Regions from separate parts of the Homo sapiens genome. Here region 1 is linked to region 2. The links are contacts of gene promoters, found by promoter capture Hi-C in human tissues and cell types (Jung and others, 2019). All regions are on one chromosome and are shown on one strand. The core of a region is centred on a gene start or on the middle of the fragment in contact, and the rest is flanking DNA. Distances in the headings are between cores, read along the strand shown.

Region 1 (3,613 bases), core at 875-3,374, 300 kb after region 2:
CTTGCTCTGTCACCCAGACTGGAGTGCAGTGGCATGATCACAGCTCAGTGCAACCTCAAACTCCTGGGCTCAAGTGATCCTCCCATTTCAACCTCCCAAGTAGCTGGGACTACAGGCATGTGCCATCACACCTGGTTAATTTTTTATTTTTAGTAGAGTCAGGGTCTCACTATGTTGCCTAGGCTGGCCGTGAACTCCTGGTTTCAAGCAATTCTGCCTTAGCCTACCAAAGTGCTGGGATTACAGATGTAACCCACTGCTCCCAGCCTGAATCTATTACTGTTAACTATAGTCATCCTACAGTGATATAGAATATTAGAACTTTTTCCTCCCATCTGGCTGTAATTTTATGTCCTTTAACAAACCTCTCTCTATCCCTCCTTCCGCCTCCCCTTCCCTCTACCCTTTCCAGCCTCTAGTATCTTCTGTTCTGCTTTTTACTTGGATAAGATCAACCTTTTTAGCTTACACATATGAGTGAGAACATGTAGCATTTAACTTTCTGTTCCTAGCTTATTTCAACTAACATAATGTCTTCCAGTTCCATCCACATTGCCGTGAAAGACAAGATTTCATTCTTTGCTATGGCTGAATATTATTCCATGGTGTATATATACCATATTTTCTTTATCAATTCGTCTATCACTGGACACCTAGGTTGACTCTATATCTTGGCTGTTGTGCATAGTGCTGCAGTAAACATGGGGGTGCAGATGTCTCTTTGTTATAATGATATCACTGGAGTACAGTGATGCAATCACAACTCACTGCAACCTCCACCTCTGGGGCTCAAGTGATCCTCTTACCTCAGCACCACCCCCACCTCCAGTCACTGGGACTACAGACACACACCACCACGCCTGGCTAATTTTTGTATTTTTTTTTTGTAGAGACAGAGTTTCATCATGTTGCCCCGGCTGGTCTCGAATTCCTAGGCTCAAGCAATCCACCTGCCTTGGCCTCCCAAAAATGCTAGGATTGGAGGTGTGAGCGACCACACCGAGCCCCCATTTCTTGTCTGTGGATATACCTTTCTTTAGCTTATTAATAACAGGAGGGGCCTTTCACTATAGGTCAGTCCCATCCTTTTTTTTTTTTTTTTAGTTGAGATAGAGTCTCGCTCTGTTGCCCAGGCTGGAGTGCAGTGGCTCGATCTCAGCTCACTGCAAGCTCCGCCTCCTGGGTTCATGCCGTTCTCCTGCCTCAGTCTCCCAAGTAGCTGGGACTACAGGTGCCCACCACCACACCTGGCTAATTTTTTGTATTTTTAGTAGAGGCGGGATTTCACTGTGTTAGCCAGGATGGTCTCAATCTGCTGACCTTGTGATCCGCCCGCCTCAGCCTCCCAAGGTGCTGGGATTACAGGCATGAGTCGCTGCACCCGGCAGTCCCATCTCTTATTGGAAATTATCAGTCTATTGTAGTATAGGCAAATAAATGTACCATTTGGATACAAAAGACTCTTCCTACTTATTTTCCCCACCCCTCCAACCATTAATATCCAGCTGGACATTAATCTTAGACTAAAACTCAGTTGCTGTACAAAGATCTACATTTCTTCAACCTCCTTCAGTGCCTATAAAGTCATTCTACTTATAAACTCTGTTGTTGAGTATGCCTTGGAGATGTTTTTGCTGTATTTTGGTTTAACCCTATGTTTCATAGAAGTTCCATCACTGGCCATAGATTTCTCCCCATGATCTGATATAATCTGATTTGCTTGATGCTTTATCATCTTTATTCTTCACTCCCCACCCCTTTCTCCCTCTCCTTCTCTCCCTCCTTTGACCTCCAAGGCAACTTGATCACTTGTTTTTTGGTGGTAACCAAATAGTTAACTTGGTTATGCTACTTGGTATTTTTTGGTATAGTATGTAGCAAAAACACCTGAGAGATCTGCCTCTGTACCCCCTCCCCAAATGAAATAAAATTTAAAAATTCAAGACACTATGAGAATAAAAATAGCTTTAGTTATAAACCTGCATATAAGTTTTAAGCAATAGTCAATACTAGGCCTTATTTGAAAATCTTCAAATAAGCTGTAAAAGTGAAATTTTGTTCATTTCCTAGCCTGCTATTTGAGGCTTATTTTCTCTCTCATTCTAAACATTATTATTTTATTTTATCTTCACAAAATAATACAATAACAGATTTATCTATCAGAAACTATATTAACAGTTTTAGTAAAATACTTAAAATTTGCAAAATGCAAATCCTCTGAGCCATGAAGCCAATCTTAGATTTGTAAGCGATATTTTTTTTACTCTGAATATATTATTTGCCTCATATTCCCAGTGCCTAGGACAGTCTTTAATACATTGTATACACCAAGTTTTCTGTAAGCCTAATCTCTATATTTTGTCTTTAACTTCGTTAAGAAATTAAGATTTTATTTGGCAAAAAGGACATTTATTTTTCTTGATATTCATTTATAAGTGTTCTAGTAAGCCTTAAATTTTTTCTTTATTATTCCGTTTTCCCCACATTTTAATTAAGTATTACTCAGAGCTGCCTTCTTTAAGCAGCTTATGGTGATACTATTTTGACGTTGGTCAGAAATCAGAATTTAAAACTGGCTGCTATCCAGCTTCTATCAGAAGTGCATTTGAGAGAAGTGTTATTTAATAAAAGATTGCTGAAAGGACATTTAGTTCATCTCCTCTCTGTATTCTGAGCTGTTTCTGTTTCAAGTTAGATCTGTGAATGCTACTTTCTTAGGAAATGCAGTGTATGTTCTCAATTTCATCAAGGATAAATAATGGAAAATAAATCATATAAAAACTAATTGCTGTGTTTGAAAAACTGTCAGGGTGTCAGGGGCACTGCCATGATGTCATTGAATTTCCCCCAGAAAAGCTTACCATGAGAAATGTCCTAGAATCTGTGTCAGAAAAAAAAAAAAAAAAAGACTTCTCTGAAGGGTTAGTAGACTTGTTTCTGATTATGAGGAACTTTTTCTTTCCTCTTGACTGTTGGAAAACTCAGTGCAAAATTTTTATACTACATGGCAGCGACTCTGTAAGTCCTTTCTAAATATGTCTTCAAAAGAAATTCTGCGCTGGAAAAAGATTGGCTTTAAATAGAAAATAGAGATAAAGCATTTGGCAAGCACCTTTTTAACATGTATTGCCAAGCTAGGCTAGTGAGCCTCTTTTTATTTTATGTATTTTTCCTTTGATTAGAAAACGTTGTGTGACGTGATCCTCATGGTCCAGGAAAGAAAGATACCTGCTCATCGTGTTGTTCTTGCTGCAGCCAGTCATTTTTTTAACTTAATGTTCACAAGTAAGTATCTTAAGGTAAAACATGCCATTATTTCTTCTATGAGAATGAAGTAAAATCTAAAAGAGAATATGTCATTTTTCTAATTTTTAAAGCAGTTAAGAACTTAAGGCCACAGAACAGTGAAGAGATTGAAAAAGTAGTCAGCTGATAACCAAAGGAAAAAATGTCCTTTCATTAGACCTAAAGGCCTGATGCCTTTATTGATGGAGGTACAGCTTCTACTTAAAAGCCCAGGGTTGAGGTGGAGGTTGCAGTGAGCCGAGATTGCACCACTGCACTCCATCCTGGGCGTCAGAGCGAGACTCTGTCTCAAAAAAAAAAAAAAAAA
Region 2 (3,158 bases), core at 614-3,113:
AAACCATAGCATTTTAAAATGTGAAACTGAGTTTTACAATTGTCAAACTATATGCTCAAACTGACACAGCTGGGATGAAAAACCTGCTCTTTCCCTTTCACCGAACTGCCTGAGTGGGGCAGTAAAATTAAAAAGAAAAAACTTGGCCAGGCACGGTGGCTCACGCCTGTAATCCCAGCACTTTGGGAGGCCGAGGCGGGCGGATCACGAGGTCAGGAGATCGAGACCATCCTGGCTAACACGGTGAAACCCCGTTTCTAGTAAAAATACAAAATATTAGCCCGGCATGGTGGCGGGCGCTGTAGTCCCAGCTGTGCGGGAGGCTGAGGCAGGAGAATGGCGAGAACCCGGGAGGCGGAGCTTGCAGTGAGCTGAGATCGCGCCACTGCACTCCAGCCTGGGCGAGGCAGACCCCGTCTCAAAAAAAAAAAAAAAAAAGAAAAAGAAAAAACTACAGCCTGGCCGCGGTGATTCACACTTGTAATCCCAGCACTTTGGGAGGCCGCGCGCGGGGCGGAGGCCGGCTGGAGGGGAGGTAGCTAACTTGAGGCCAGGAGTTTGAGGCCAGCCTGGCCCACATAAGCAAAACCCCGTCTCTACTAAAAATATAAACATTAGCCGCGAGCGGTGGCTGCAAGTCTGTAATCACAGCTACTCGGGAGGCTAAGGGGGAAGGATCGCTTGATCCCGAGAGGCAGAGATTGCGGTGGGCAGAGATCGCGCCACTACACTCCAGCCTGGGCACACAGCGACTGTCTCAAAAAGGAAAAAAGGAAAAAAAAAGACAGAAAAGAAAAGAAAAAACTACAGAATAGGTCCCAGTCTGCAACCCTAACTGAAAAATATTAACAAATCCTTGCAGTAAGTGACCGAGCCTGTTGGCACCAGCCTGTAGTCCCAGCTACTTGGGAGACTGAGGTGGAAGGATCGCTAGAGCACAGGAGGGGAAGGTTGCAATGAGCCGGGATAGCGCCACTGCACTCCAGTCTGGGTGACAGAGCGAGACTCTGTCTTAAAAACAAAAACCAAAAAAACCCCAAATCCTTTAAGTGCGCTATAATGGTTAAGACTATGGGCTCTGATGCCCCACTGCCTGAGCCCCTAACTCCCTCAGTCAGCATAGCTGTGCGACCTTGGCAAAAAAGTTTCTCTACGGCTGTTTCCTCACCTGTAAAATGGGGGCAGTAATAGAAATCATCCAAACCCTTCATCGTACAGGTAAGAAAGCAGAGGCATCCAACGACTATTATTATAATCATGCTTTCATGGCAGTGGTACTTTCACGAGGTGTCTCGATTCCCTGAACAGGACTCTTTCCACTTAGGACCACATGGAGCGGTGAGGAAAAACACCCCGAGAACCACCTAGTGCTAGAGAGTGAATTAGTGACTTTCACATCCACTGGGGTCATCCAACCCTCCCTACAATCCCGAGAAATATGACCTCCACTTTAAGGATGCAAAAATAGAAAAGGAGGGATTGCAAGACTGCTTAAAGACCATGCAACTATAAAGCGATAGAACGGGAACTCGAACTCAGGTTAGATCGGCCCCACTTGACCAGACAGCCTCAGGGGCCGTGCACGGCAGTGTCCCCTATTTTTCTCTCCCTCCCCCGACGGCCAAAAATGGGGCTGCTGTCTCCGCCACCCTCTTCCCTCCAGTCACTTTCCCGGTTCTTCTCCCACTGACCCAGGTAAATCACAAGAGGGATAAAGCCCCAGCGAATGGCAAACTGGCTCCCCTTGAAGAGCTGCTGTAGTCTCTGCTTGGCCTCTTTGCTCAGCTTCACCATGGCGACGGCCGTGTGGCGCAGGGAGGACCCCTTACAGCAACCACAGCGTCGGGAATCCGAAAGGGAAAGGAGGTGCGCAGGCGCCACACACGGCCTTTACGGCAGGAGTCGTGAGCGTCGCCAGCAGAGGTCGTAATTCATCGCCTTTAACCTTCCCTGCTCTTCCGCCTCGCCGGCAGTAGTAGGCGCATGCGTGGTTGCGATCATGGCTGGCGGTAACTTCGCGTTTCTGTTACCCATTTTTAAAACGCATCTTCAGGTGTTCCTTCCTTCTCATGGAAGGAACATTAATTAAATTCAGAGGGACTGGGTTTTAGTCCTAACTCTTATTCCTACTGGCTGTGTAACCGTGGACAAATTATTTAACTTCTCAGAATCAGGTTGTTCAAACCTGAGGTTGAACTGCAAAAAGGTTACGAAGTGACACTCAGTAGGGCCCGAATCCATGTTTTCTTTGATCCCAATCTTTTTTAAAAAAATTTCTTTTAATTACTTGCCAACATTTTAGAATTTGGAAATCTCACATGAAATTCTGGACTTTTGAAGCTGAGGAATTCCATTGCAACAATCAAGGAGACTAAATAGGAAATGACACTTCTGTTTGGCCATCTTGCCCTCATTGGTTTAGAATGGCAGTGGTTCTCAACCCTGGCTGCACATTAGAATCACTTTAGGAGAGGTAAAACCATACTCACGCTGGAGACCTACTCCTAGAAATTCTAAAGAGTTTGGGGCTGGGAACTGGCCATTGATCTGCCTTTGAAGTTTCCCAAGTGATTCCCAACCTCTGATGTAATAAATTTCTGGCTGCTGTCGTATTTGAGATTTGACCCCCCCAGGTCTAAGACTTAATTGATTTTTAAGGCTGTAAGACATTTCTAAGACTTTGACTTTTAAGACTTTCCTGCCTCATTCTGAAGGTACGTAGTCGTTTTCTGTGCCCAATGTCTGTGCTCCTAAAAATTTCCCCTTGCTGACCTCTGTGGCTTGCGCCTGTAATTCTGGCTATTTGGGAGGCTGAGGCGGGAGGACCACTTGAGTTTGATGCTGCAGTGAGCTGTGATTGGGTCACTTGCTGTAAGCTCCCAAAGGGTTCACTTTGCCCGCTGCCTGGACAGAGCCGATTGATCAACACTGGGGAATTACAATAAAGAGTAATTCACGCAGAGCTGGCTGTGCAGGAGACCAGAGTTTTATTATTACTCAAATCAGTATCCCATAGCATTCGGGGATCAGAGTTTTTAAGGACAATTTGGTGCGTGGGGAGACAGCCAGTAAGTCGGAAGTGCTGATTGGTTGGGTCAGAGATGAAATCACAGGGAGTGGAAGCTGTCTTGTACTGCCTCAGTTCCTGGGTCGGGGCC

The links. Contacts are between HindIII fragments. The study calls those that stand out against the background at their distance.
Region 1: a contact is called between a fragment that was not itself captured here and the fragment with the promoter of TOMM7 in region 2, in 1 of the 25 tissues and cell types used here (lymphoblastoid cells).

The regions. Positions count from the first base shown.
Region 1 is chr7:23,120,595-23,124,207 of GRCh38, forward strand. KLHL7 (kelch like family member 7) reads left to right here. Exons shown (of 11, transcript NM_001031710.3): 2 at 3,183-3,285. Among named protein-coding and RNA genes, the nearest start is that of KLHL7, 17 kb to the left of the region's middle. The HindIII fragment of the contact is 3,372 bases long and covers 439-3,613 here.
Region 2 is chr7:22,820,986-22,824,143 of GRCh38, forward strand. It overlaps TOMM7 (translocase of outer mitochondrial membrane 7), which reads right to left and starts at 1,864. Exons shown (of 3, transcript NM_019059.5): 1 at 1,692-1,864. The coding sequence starts at 1,794. It overlaps LOC112267993 (a long non-coding RNA gene), which reads left to right and starts at 1,972. Exons shown (of 3, transcript XR_002956543.2): 1 at 1,972-2,714. RefSeq lists enhancers at 1,345-2,105, 1,775-1,854, 1,885-2,094. The HindIII fragment of the contact is 34,135 bases long and covers 1-3,158 here.